Regions from separate parts of the Homo sapiens genome. Here all the other regions are linked to region 2. The links are contacts of gene promoters, found by promoter capture Hi-C in blood cells and fetal thymus (Javierre and others, 2016). All regions are on one chromosome and are shown on one strand. Each heading gives the region's core, a stretch centred on a gene start or on the middle of the fragment in contact. The rest is flanking DNA. Distances are from core to core; before and after follow the strand shown. Region 1 overlaps NUP37 (nucleoporin 37). Region 2 holds the start of DRAM1 (DNA damage regulated autophagy modulator 1). Region 3 overlaps GNPTAB (N-acetylglucosamine-1-phosphate transferase subunits alpha and beta).

Evidence for each region. The method cuts DNA at HindIII sites, captures the fragments that hold promoters and counts their contacts. A CHiCAGO score of 5 or more calls a contact.
Region 1: a fragment that was not itself captured here is called in contact with the fragment with the promoter of DRAM1 in region 2 in 1 of 17 cell types (neutrophils); the score reaches 5.7 in neutrophils.
Region 3: a contact is called between a fragment that was not itself captured here and the fragment with the promoter of DRAM1 in region 2, in 1 of 17 cell types (neutrophils). The highest score is 6.2, in neutrophils.

What each region holds. Positions count from the first base shown.
Region 1 is chr12:102,069,793-102,073,922 of GRCh38, forward strand. It overlaps NUP37 (nucleoporin 37), which reads right to left. Exons shown (of 10, transcript NM_024057.4): 10 at 3,311-4,130. Among named protein-coding and RNA genes, the nearest start is that of WASHC3, 9.9 kb to the left of the region's middle. The HindIII fragment of the contact is 2,992 bases long and covers 400-3,391 here.
Region 2 is chr12:101,875,574-101,879,294 of GRCh38, forward strand. DRAM1 (DNA damage regulated autophagy modulator 1) reads left to right here and starts at 2,007. Exons shown (of 7, transcript NM_018370.3): 1 at 2,007-2,347. The coding sequence starts at 2,217. RefSeq lists enhancers at 1,411-2,193, 1,984-2,033, 2,194-2,975, 2,614-2,703, 2,844-2,893 and silencers at 1,644-1,803, 2,054-2,393. The HindIII fragment of the contact is 18,310 bases long and covers 1-3,721 here.
Region 3 is chr12:101,746,476-101,750,589 of GRCh38, forward strand. GNPTAB (N-acetylglucosamine-1-phosphate transferase subunits alpha and beta) reads right to left here. Exons shown (of 21, transcript NM_024312.5): 20 at 2,626-2,716; 21 at 1-766. The coding sequence ends at 689. Among named protein-coding and RNA genes, the nearest start is that of SYCP3, 9.1 kb to the left of the region's middle. The HindIII fragment of the contact is 9,825 bases long and covers 1-4,114 here.

The DNA of each region.
Region 1 (4,130 bases), core at 646-3,145, 190 kb after region 2:
GCTTACTTTAGAGGTCAGTTGTCTGGAACTTCCTTCCTTTTACGCTGTCTCAAAAACAAAGATTTCCTAAAACAGTATTAGCAAGCTCTTACTTGAGATGGTTGCAAAGATTAACCTTAGTTTTGGCCAGGGTTTAATCCTGTCTGAATTTGGCTCAATTATAGGACAACAGCTGTGTTTGTAAGATCAAAGTTTTATGTTCAACCACCATTAGAAGCACAGATACCAGCAGCATTTATTGTCTTTTACTACATAGAAATAGAAACTTAACTCATTACAGCATTATAAATGCAGTTGGTAGAAATCAGTATTTCATAAATCTTTAAATCAAATTGTTTGTAAAGGCTGAGAAACCTGGTAGTCTCCCCATTACTTACTATTGTTCATGTGGATTTTATAAGCTTACATTAAGTGTTACAAGTCCCAAGGTAAAGTATCCTGTTAAAAATCAGTTAAAAAGGCAAATAGCTGTATAACAAAGACATAAGTTACACAGAAATAAGCTGATCCAAGGAAATTTTCAGACAGACAAACGTCACTTGACCCTACATAAGGGCAACAATTTTTTTTTATTAAGGTAGTTCAAAGAACAGATGAAAATGTCAGAAAGTAGACTAAATGCTTTTGATTTTCCATGAAATCTATGCCCAATGCATGCAAAAGGGCTTATGAGTTTGAGTAATGGATATATCATAACGTGTTTTTTAGCTTTTGTGAAATGAGATCTTCAAAGCTGATACACTAATTATTTTGTTGTGTTACTGTGATTAGGTAACAAATGGTTGCTATAAATTAAAGCCATGTTAATAAAAAAAGTTCTACCCACATTTTAAAAGGCATTATTTTTTAAATGTATTAGAAACAAATGTTAATTGTTTTGAAATTCTTTTCAAATGCCTGTTAAATGTTTTTGAATCAACAAGGTGTTAAAATTAAAGAAACTGAGTGTTCTCTCCTGTCCTTGTTGCTGAGCACACTGTTTGATAAAGATATATTGGAACACAATGCTGCTTCTGAGGACTTGACCAAGCTCTCATGAGGAGTATGTGGAAATGGATCATAATTATCATTTTTATTTGGCAAATTTTATTTAGGCTCAGAGCTAAGGCTATTATTACTTGTATGGTATAAAGTTGGGTTAAACTGAGTTTAACTTTTTGAGGTATAGAAAAACATGGAAAATAGTGTAGAGTGAGAACTTTTTCTCTCCTAAAAACTATTAAAATCAGTCTTGGGCACAATACTGCCTCATAACTTCCCAATCAGCGTTTCTGGGACAATGTCAGATTTTAGACAATTACAGAAAACCAGACACAAATGTGCAAACCAGATTTCAATTTCTTCTCCACTGACATGAGATTTAAAACAGCAACAGAAACATTTCTAGGTCAGTGTCAATATGTAGTCACAAATTACCAAAGTAAGAAACAAATTGGAGTGCATGGGTGTGTGATTTTGTGTTTTGGCATGGGAGAGATATTGAAATATTCATAACGTAGAAGCCAAATCATAAAAATGAAATGGGACTTATGATCCCATCATCATTCTGAAAATGTAGGATTTAGCTCTGACATCTTGCAGATTTGTGATATCCTGACTTTTGTTTGCTTCAATAGTCCTAAATAATACAAGTTTTAGAACATAAGTACAACTTTTTTCTCTTTGATGTTTTAAGTGAAGCAATCCTGAGGAAAACTTAAATTTCAACAGAAGAAAAACCATCTTAGACATATTTATAAACAAACATGGAAAAACTAAAACTGGGACATACACACAATGTGAAATATCTCATATTATCATCAGGAATTAGAAGTGATGACCAATAACTAATTCCTCATAAATACTTCCTCCTGTCTTAGTGTAATATAAACATATTTCGAAGAACAAAGTTTACTAAGAAAAAAACAACATTATACGATTTTAAAATAATTAAACACAATAAAGTTTAACAACAAAGTATAAGTTGGAACATGGTCCTGTAGCCTACTTTTAAGATCTAAAAAAAGAAAAAGAGGTTAGAGTTCTCAATGCTTACATAGGATAAAGTACATTTCACTCCTGAAACTAACAGGTAAAGGCAACCCTCTCATTTCTTGAGAATGTCTTATCTTACAGTCACTATATTAATCCACAAATGGAATCACTATTTTCTTCTGAGGATAACACTTCCTGCCTCTTTTTGGCATAACAGTATACAATCATCATGAGTTATCTTTTCCCAAAACAGCTTCCCCTACTAAAAGATAGAAGTTCTATTGGGTATTTTTTTTTTTTTTTTGAGATGGAGTCTTGCTCTGTCACCCAGGCTAAAGTGCAGTGGTGTAATCTTGGCTCACCACCACCTCTGCCTCCAGGGTTCAAGCGATTCTCATGGCTCAGCCTCCCAAGTAGCTGGGATCATAGGCACGTGCCATCACGTCCTGCTAATTTTGTTTTTGTATTTTTAGTAGAGGTGGGTTTTCAACATGTTGGCCAGGCTGGTTTTGAACTCCTGACCTCAAGTGATCCGCCCACCTCGGCCTCCCGAAGTGTTGGGATTACAGGCATGAGCCACTGCGCCCAGCCCTACTGGGTAATTTCATCAGACAACTTTTATATTTTGGTTAAGCCCTTATTCCAGAGAATCCATTTCTTATATACCCAAGCCCAACATAATCATCTCCTTAATTTCCATCCCTAAATAAAACCCACCCACTTCATGCATCAATTTTTCTAAGTATATGACAACAATTTTTGAACACACTAGCCTTAGAGATGATTTTTATATTTCTTGGACATATCCTGAAATGACAAATTCTTGTAAGAGTCACTATTGATAGCCCTTTGGCTATCCTGATGCTTTTAGGAATCCTTGCCCCATCACAGAGATTCTTAAAGAGAACCATGTCAAAATTCCTTGCTCTTTGCTTTTTCCTTTGTTAGTTCAAAATCTTCTTATGAAGGGGTAAACAAAACAATTTATATCATTTGGTTATAATATTTAACTGTATTAAAAAATTGACTAGGAAATTGCTATAAAATTTTTCATCTGTACTTTAAAGCATGTAAAAGTTGAACCCAAACATCTACATGGTTATAAAATTTCACTGAATTCTTTCTTTTAATTACCTGGAACATTCTCCTATCTCTTAAAAATATAATGTTCTTGATTCTACAATTATTTTAAGACACCTTAAGAATAGAAAACTGGAGTAAAAAATATTTACTGGCATTAAACATAAATCTCTAAAACCTCAAAAATAAGACCTACTCATCTCTGAAATAAATAATTTCTATACATCTCTGAACCACGTGACAGACACATACTAGGTATTTTCATTCACCTTTATTTAATCTTTACAGCAACTCCACAAAATAATGATTCCTATCTGTACTTTACAAGAGGAAATGAAGCTTCAAAAAGGGCATTAACTTGCAGGAATGGGCAGTTTGTCAAAATGTATTGGATTCTGTATGTGACTGACAAGCAGAACCATAATTTTATATGCTTCTGACTGTACCATGATGTATCCCAAAAATGTGATACAGCTGTCTTAGATAACGTTGATTTTAATGATCTTTGAGAGGGTGAACACAGTTCCATTGCCAACAGGTCCCATCTCAAAAACACTTAAGTTTCTTGGTAAGAACAGTGAAAATTCACAAAAAGGAGGCTGTTAAAGGTATACACTAGAAGTCATTTTTCAAGGTAACTTTTGATCCCATATATCAGATGTTCTAAGACTGTTAGAACACCTCGTCCAAAGGAATCTGCGTATAATAAACAGGGTTGAGCAATATAATCAATCACATATTTAAGAAACTGAAAACAATTTTTTACATTAAATTGAGTACACATACACATATATATACTCAACAACCACTTCCAGAATACCCTAAGATATTTTTTTCTCCTTGGATTTTTTTTCTTTTGAGATAGTCTCGCTCTGTCGCCCAGGCTGCAGTGAAGTGGCACGATCTTGGCTCACTGTAACCTCTGCCTTCCAGGTTCAAGTGATTCTCCTGCCTCAGTCTTCCAAACCATGCTTGGCTAATTTTTTTTATTTTTATTTTTTTAGTAGAGATAGGGTTTCACCATGTTGGCCAGGTTGGTCTTGAACTCCTCACCTCAAGTGATCCACTCCCTTCAG
Region 2 (3,721 bases), core at 757-3,256:
AATACTAGTCTGCCCATGTTCTTACTTTCTCCTTAATACCAAAAATAATCCAAGATTCTCAGCAGGACTCTGGTGACTTTGCCTCTTTGTTTCTCTCTCCATTTGCTGCCTCACACTTATTTAAGTGCTTTCATAGTCCCAGGGAAGCAAGCTCTGTGTATGCATTTCCTCCAGTTGTTTTCTGGGCCTGGAATGCTAATCTTATTTTTCTTTGCCTGGTTAGTAATTACTTCCTTTTGAAAACTCTGATGTCATCTGTCAGAAAACCTCCGTGGTCCTTCCTCTGAGCCCAGGCCCCTGGCCCTCAGCTCTGGGCATGTCTCTACTTTTTAAAATCCTCTCCTTTCCATTTAATAAACCACATAACATAATTTTGTTTTTATTTATTTATATTTTTGAGACAGAGTCTCGTTCTCTCACCCAGGCTGAAATGCAGTGGTGTGATCTCAGCTCACTGAGAAAACCTCCATTTCCCAGGTTCAAGCGATTCTCCTGCCTCAGCCTCCTGAGTAGCTGGGATTACAGGCGTGAGCCATGATGCCTGACTAATTTTTTGTATTTTTAGTAGAGATGGGGTTTCACCATGTTGGCCAGGCTGGTCTCGAACTCCTGACCTCAGGTGATCCACCCACCTTGGCCTCCCAAAGTGCTAGGATTACAGGCATGAGCCACCACGCCTGGCCTAATTTTGTTATTTTGATCTATGAGTGTCCTCGTCCTGAGGGTACTATTACTATTTCATCTTTGTAGCCTAGCATGGCGCCCATGAAATGTGTTTGTGGCTGAAAGGAACCTATCTTTGGTCACCAATGACCCAACAATTTTGGCCACATATGTTGGGCTCAGACTCCCTAAACTATCAAAATCATGTGCTTATATTATAAGTGCCTCCAGAACACAAATCCCTTTCACAGGGCTTGAAATGTATCAAGTCACTATTAATCATCTTAGGCCAAGGCTCCGAGTCTGGGCTACTCCAGAACCTGGAGGGGAGTTTTTTTTGTTTTTTTTTTGTTTGTTTGTTTTTTGAGACAAGGTCTTGCTCTGTCACCCAGGCCGAGTGAAGTGGTGTGATAAAGGCTCACTGCAGCCTCGACCCCCAAGGCTCAAGTGATCATCCCAACTCAGTCTCCCGAGTAACTGGAACCGGCTTTTTTTCTTTTTCATTTTTTTTTTTTTTTTTTGTAGAAGAGGGGTTTCGCTATGTTACCCAGGCTGATCTCTAGTTCTTGGGTTCAAGCGATCCTCCCAACTCGGCCTCCCAAAGTGGTGGCATTCCAGGGGTGATGGCTTTTGGATGCCTCCCAAAGTGATGGCTATTCACGGCGCCCGGCCTGGGAAATCTTATTTCCAGGAAATATTCTCCAGTTGCGCTCTCCTGGAAAGCAGCACAATGGGCCTCCCGGCTCCGTGGGCGCGCAGTCCCACCCGCCTGCCCCGCACCCCACCCGCGTACTCTCCACCCCACCCGTTCCCACCCTGTCTGGGTTTTCGGGTGTTCACCATTGAGGTGGGAGCCACATCTGCGCCCCGTGACCTGGCGAACCTCATTGAACACTTCTGCCCGACCCCCGCAGCAGCAGCGCGACCGGATGGCATGGGTGTCACCACGCGGTGGCCACTCTCACTGCTGCGAAGCGCCGGCGGCGGGACCTCGGAGGGGGCGCCCTCGGGGTGCGAGGCCCGGCACTCCGGAAATCCCCCGGGAGGGAGGGGTTGGGAGAAATAAATCCTTTTCTCCAGAGTTGCGCAAGAGCCAGCGCGGTAGGGCCAGAGTGGGAAGGCCAGAGCGGGCGTCCCCGCCAGTGACCCCACGCCGCCCGTCCGCGCCCAACCCGGCCTCCGCCGAGTGTCCAAACCAAAAGCGAAAGGAACCCGACCCCGCGTCCCCTCCGGCGGCTCCGTAGTCGCGTCCGCTTGGAGCTCGCCGGGCGCCTCCGACCCTGCCGGGCCGCTTTGTGACTTCACTCGTTTCGCAACAAGCCCGGGCAGCCCGCGCCCCACCCACTCTGGCCCGGCAGCCTCGCCGCCCGCAGCCTCGCTCCGCTCCTCGCGCTTCCCCTCCCTCCGGGGCTGGGCCTGCCCCGGCCGTCGCGGAGCCTCCCCTCCCACCGTCCGTGAGTGTACGCGCCCGGCCGCCGCCTCCAGGCAGCCCGGAGCAACCCGGCGCCCGGCCCCGCTGGGCGCAGCACTCCGTCGGCGGCGGCGGCGGCGCGATGCTGTGCTTCCTGAGGGGAATGGCTTTCGTCCCCTTCCTCTTGGTGACCTGGTCGTCAGCCGCCTTCATTATCTCCTACGTGGTCGCCGTGCTCTCCGGGCACGTCAACCCCTTCCTCCCGTATATCAGGTGAGTGGCAGGGTGGGCGTCAGGGCCCCAGGAGCAGGCACAGGGACCACAGGGAGCGCTGCCGACGGGGAGGGAAGGCGTCCGGACCCAGCTTGGGGCGTCGTGTGGTCAGGCAGAGGTGGGAGCAGGAGGAGAGGTGCTCCCGATAGCCTGGGATGTTTAGGGAGGCAGCGGGTGCGGCGCTGAGCACTTCTGCCTGTACCCGGAGCATGGAACAGGGTGGCAGCAAGGAGAGGTTCAGGATAGATGGTAGAGCTTTCATTCTGGGTATGGGACAGAATCTCAGCAGGACGTTCTTAGGCGATATTGAAACAAGATGGGTTCTGATAGATGACATATATTATACAAGAGGTAGATCCAGGTATATGCTAAACAGCCACTATTTTCACTTCTGCATCCCAACATCCCTTGAAGTGGATGTTTGGGCTTATTATTCCCGCAAGCGAGCGGTGGTGTAAAGTTGATGAAATATCATCAACGTGACACTGATGTCACACTAGTTAATGGTAGGAGCAGAATTCACACCCGGCCATGCAGAAAGCAACACTGTGCTGCCCCCAGGTCTCTGGGAGTCTGGCTTAAATTCTCTGGAGCTGCACCAGACACCTCTGGGCACTGTGACCCCAAAGTCCTCAACTTGTCAACAACTTGTGACATCTTTTGTGTTATTTTACCCATTCACTTTTCCTGTGCTTTGGCCTCTACCTTCCTGAGGGGCACTTCAGTGCCAGGGACAGTGGTCTGATCCTCCTATGTGGGTTCCAGCTCAGTGCCTTTCTCATAGTGGCAGGATTCTTTAAACGTTAGAACCATCCATCCTTATCTAAGTAGTGTGACCCCTCTGGACAGGCATTGGTTGGTGAACGGATGATAAGGTTGGTGACACCCAAGGTTTGTTACTGCTATGATAGAAAATGTAGGGCGTCTTCTTCCCTGCAGCCATTCTGTCTGGTGAGCAATGTTCTGTGTTTTTTTGTTTGTTTGTTTGTTTTTTTCCTTTTTTTGGGGGTGGGGGTGAGGAGTGTGGAGAAAGGGGAAACAAAGATCGAGCAAGAGGGGACTAGCATTTTTTAAAATTTTTTTTATTTTTTTGAGACAGAGTCTTGTTCTGTCGCCCAGGCTGGAGTGCAGTGACACAATCTCGGCTCACCGCAACCTCTGCCTCCCGGGTTCAAGCGATTCTCCTGCCTCAGCCTCCCAAGTAGCTGAGATTACAGGCGTGCACCACCACACCTGGCTTAATTTTTTTGTATTTTTAGTAGAGACAGGGTTTCACTATGTTGGTCAGGCTGGTCTCAAATTCCTGACCTCAAGTGATCCTCTTGCCTTGGCCTCCCAAAATGCTAGGATTACAGGTGTGAGCCAGTGTTCCCA
Region 3 (4,114 bases), core at 1-2,500, 130 kb before region 2:
ACGTGAAATCATAGCATTCTTAGGGGCTGAAGTCAATAATTACAAAGCATTTCAGATGTCAATCATTGAGCTCTTCAGTAGTTAGTGGTTTAAGACCATTTACAGTCTTAAATATTAATAAAACTCATAATTTAGGTATTGTCAATAAGAGGTGATATTGCTGCATTATTTAAATAACATCTATAAAAATAGGTTTAGACATCCCAATTCGTTATACTCAGAAGCAAGAATAACTAGTTAACTTAGTAACTACTTAAAAATGGGAAATGAAAAAAAAAAAGTGCAAAACTTTAGCAAAAGGCTTTGGAATGCAAAGACTGGAGCCTCTTAGCAATCACTCCCAGCTGGCATAGGCTTCTCCTAATAAAGTTAGTCTGCAATGATTGCTGTGGGAAATTAACAGCTGTCTCTTGTCAGTGAGCCTTTTTATAAAAAGGATGACAGGTCCATGAGCAAATTCTTTAAAAGTAAAATCAGTTCAGAGCTGCTCAACACACAAGTTTTCAGTGGGTTGGTTAAATAATTCCTGGTCAGTGGGCTATATTCATGCCACAAAACAGCATGGTACTGGATATTTTCCTTCTTCGGGCCAAACTGCTAAGCATCACATCACAAAGACATCTCTGTGAAGCTGAGTTTTAAAATGCTCAGTAAATGCTGAGGTAGATGGTTTTCAAATGAAGATCTTCTATACTCTGATTCGATTGGGACTAGCTTCTTTGTGTATCCTCCTTCTGGGAAATATCTTCCGCTTAAGTGCAATTAACTAAATGATGAAAGACAGAAAATACATTTTAATTCTCACGTTGATGAAAGAATATAAGTGCATCAAACTTTCTAAGAGCCATATGACCTTAATCATTTCCACAATCTTATACATTAAAAAGACAACAAACAAATCTCCATCATTCCTCTTCCAAAACAAAAACAAATATTAGTTTTGTTTAGCTTTGTAGGGACAGTATGCCTAGATATGTGCCCACAAAGAGACCCAAGAGGATTAAAATTATTTCGGCCCATGCTTCATTTTTCTAAGACCTACAACTACAGATTTTTACACAGCTATTACCAAAGCATATTTATTTTCAAGATGTCCATTTGTCAAGTCTTTCTATTGAAGGAAACTGGCTCTATTTAGCCATAAGACACTGTCTCTGGGTTGATATGATGGCTTATTCCTTCATCTGTAGGAGGAGGCAGGGCTTTGCCCAAACATAAGACACCACGGTTTGAATGATGAGCTGGAATTTGGGAGGGGAGGAAGAGGCAGCATTGGCTGCTTTGTTTGTGAAGGTGGCAGGTATGGCAGGAGGAAGGAGTTTGACTCCAGTAGAGAGCAGAGTGTTGGGATTTAACCTGCCCTTCCCTTCCCTCTTCCTGCCTCTCTAGTTCCCTATTCTCTACTGGTATAGATAGACTGGTATAGATAGAGGAAAGACTGCCTCTCTAGTTCCCTATTCTCTACTGGTATAGATAGAGGAAAGACTGACACTCCTCTTCCTTTCCATTAATGGCTGCTCCTTTGAGTCAGGGCTCCTTTCCTTCCCCATCCTAGGTCAGCACAGCAGACTCAAAGGTTTCTCACTGGACCCTGTTCTAAAAGCAGGTACAGCCTTTCTGAGATTTTTCATAAGACTTTTACCTGCCAGGAACAATGGTAACAGACATCAAGAACAAGATGTACAATCCCTGGAAAGCAGATGAAGGTTAAGTTGCTGTCCTGTTCACCTGCCCAGTCTCTGTTTCCTGAATTTCCTTCCATTTACAGCAAGAAGCCCATTCATTTATCCTGAAGCTCTCAGTACTTAGGTGCTTGTCCTTCTTGGTATAAGTCAACTTGGTGTACGTTTCATTTGAGTGACAGCTAGAAAAGCTCCACTCAATAGTCACCTTGATTGGAGGCAGAGGCCAAGTCACTTGCCACACCCAAGTCAGGTTGGTAAAGATGCCCATTCCCCTCCTTCAATCCTTTTTCTTCAGAGTATTTGATATGTGAATAGCCTAATGAGGACTCTCTTATCCCTTTCTCTTTACCTCACAAATCTCCCTCCGACTTCTGGACACTCACCTCAAGGAGGCTGCGTGTGTACATGCATGCAGAGGAAAGCCCAGGTGTAGAGGGGCTGACAAGGAGAGGAGGAAGGAGGAGAGAGGAGGGAGAACTCCTAGCGATTGAAAGAAAGATAAATGGGAGCTACTGGTGTGAGTGGGACAACACAACGGAACCGTGGGATGTCTGAAGACACTGTGCTCACTCAAGGAAGCGTGAAAGAGAGGAAGAAAATTGGAGACCCATAGAAAATTAACATTAGATAAGGATTCTAGATGGTTTTTTGGTTATAAATACTTAGAGCTACTTGGTTTTAGCCTGATATCTACAAGTTAATCTGTTGAGTTCCAGATAAAAAGAATACTGGTAATGGATTTAGAAGAGAAATGAATAAAAGACTGTTATATTTGCTGCCTGAATATTGTGAAACATATTTAACATATTCACATATGAGCTATAAGACAATAAGAGAAGTTAAAATTTTGATTGTAAATGTGTATCATTTTCTAAAACATTCAGATGCTAGTATACCAAGAAATACCATTTAATACCCACATAAAATATATAAAACTTACCTGCTCAGCAAAAAATGAGAATATAGTAAACATAATCAATGTTGCTAGTACACAATGGGTCCAAAACTTCAATTTGTCTCGATAAGCCCTCCTGTGCAGAGAGAAGAAAGCAACTATGTACTTCTGTATATGGTTTCACTACCATTAGTTAAGCATTATTTATATACTAGTTCTATAAAAACAATGTTGGGAAACACAAAAACATTGTCTTGCAATTCTAAAATGCTCACACAATATACATTTCCAACACGAGTTCAGATTTTTTATTATGTCATAGTAAATATTATACTTGAATTAGTGAAGTTATCCAGGCAGGAGAGAGGACTTCAAAAGAAAATTACTTCTGGCACTTAAACAAAACCACTCTTTCATTCATTTTTATTCACTCATACTTATTTATTCACTCAGTTTCTTGATAAATACTTCCTGCGTATATGGAGAGATGAACAAGATGAAGTCCCTGCTTTTAAGTGTTTAGAAAACTGAGGCGTTGCTGACATGCTGACTGATGACTTGCCATCACATAAGACACAGAAATATGCATTATCAAAAGCAAAGTCATGTGAAAAACTTAGAGAAATGAGGACAGTGCCACAGAGATGGTGGCATTTCCTGTAAGCCTTGAAGGGGACAGGAAGCATATGGATGAGAAAGAGAAGGAGCAGTAGAGTGGCACGGTGGCCAGCTGGGCCCTACAGGACTGAGTGGAGTGAATCCATGCGGCAGCATGGGGGGAACTAAGCCAGGTGAAGGCGAGAGGGTATGAACTGCAGCTGCTTTGCAAAACCACACCGTGGGGTCTGGACAGAACACTCTAGTGGGAAAGTGGATGAAACAGACAGGTGGGGGTATGTGTGACATAATCAGGGTAAACATGTTGGCCATTTGAAGGATGGACAAACAAGGAAGGCAGGCAGTTTAGTTTTAGTCCAGGCATGAAAGGAAGCAGTGACAATGAAAAGAAATAAGCAACAGAAGAGACATTCCTGAGGTAGAATCAACTGGACCTGGAGCCAAGAGAATACTGAGGATAAAAAGAGGCAGTACAGCCATTTCCTCATCTGTAATTTGGAAATAATGAACAATTGGTTACGAAGATTAAATAAAAATGCTTACCATAGGTTTGGAAGATATGCTAGTAACTACCAAACTCTGGCCTCTGTGCTGAGTTACAGATTCTCATTTTCCACTGTTTGGGCGTCTCTACCTCAAGTCACACATCCAAAACGGCACTCGCCCACACACAGCTCTTCCCCCTGTATTTCCCACTTCTGTTAATAGGATCATAACCAGCTCTGTCAACTAATGTCTAGTGTCAGTGCAGTGAGAGACAATGCAGAACTAAGCAGGATGAGGAGCAAGCAACCTCCAGGGCAGGGGAATGACTGCAAGAGCACCCACACCTGATTCACACCATTTGTACAGCACAGAAATCAAGGTCCTCTCAAATTACTTTTAAGCCCACTTCTTTCTTATTCAAATGGACCCT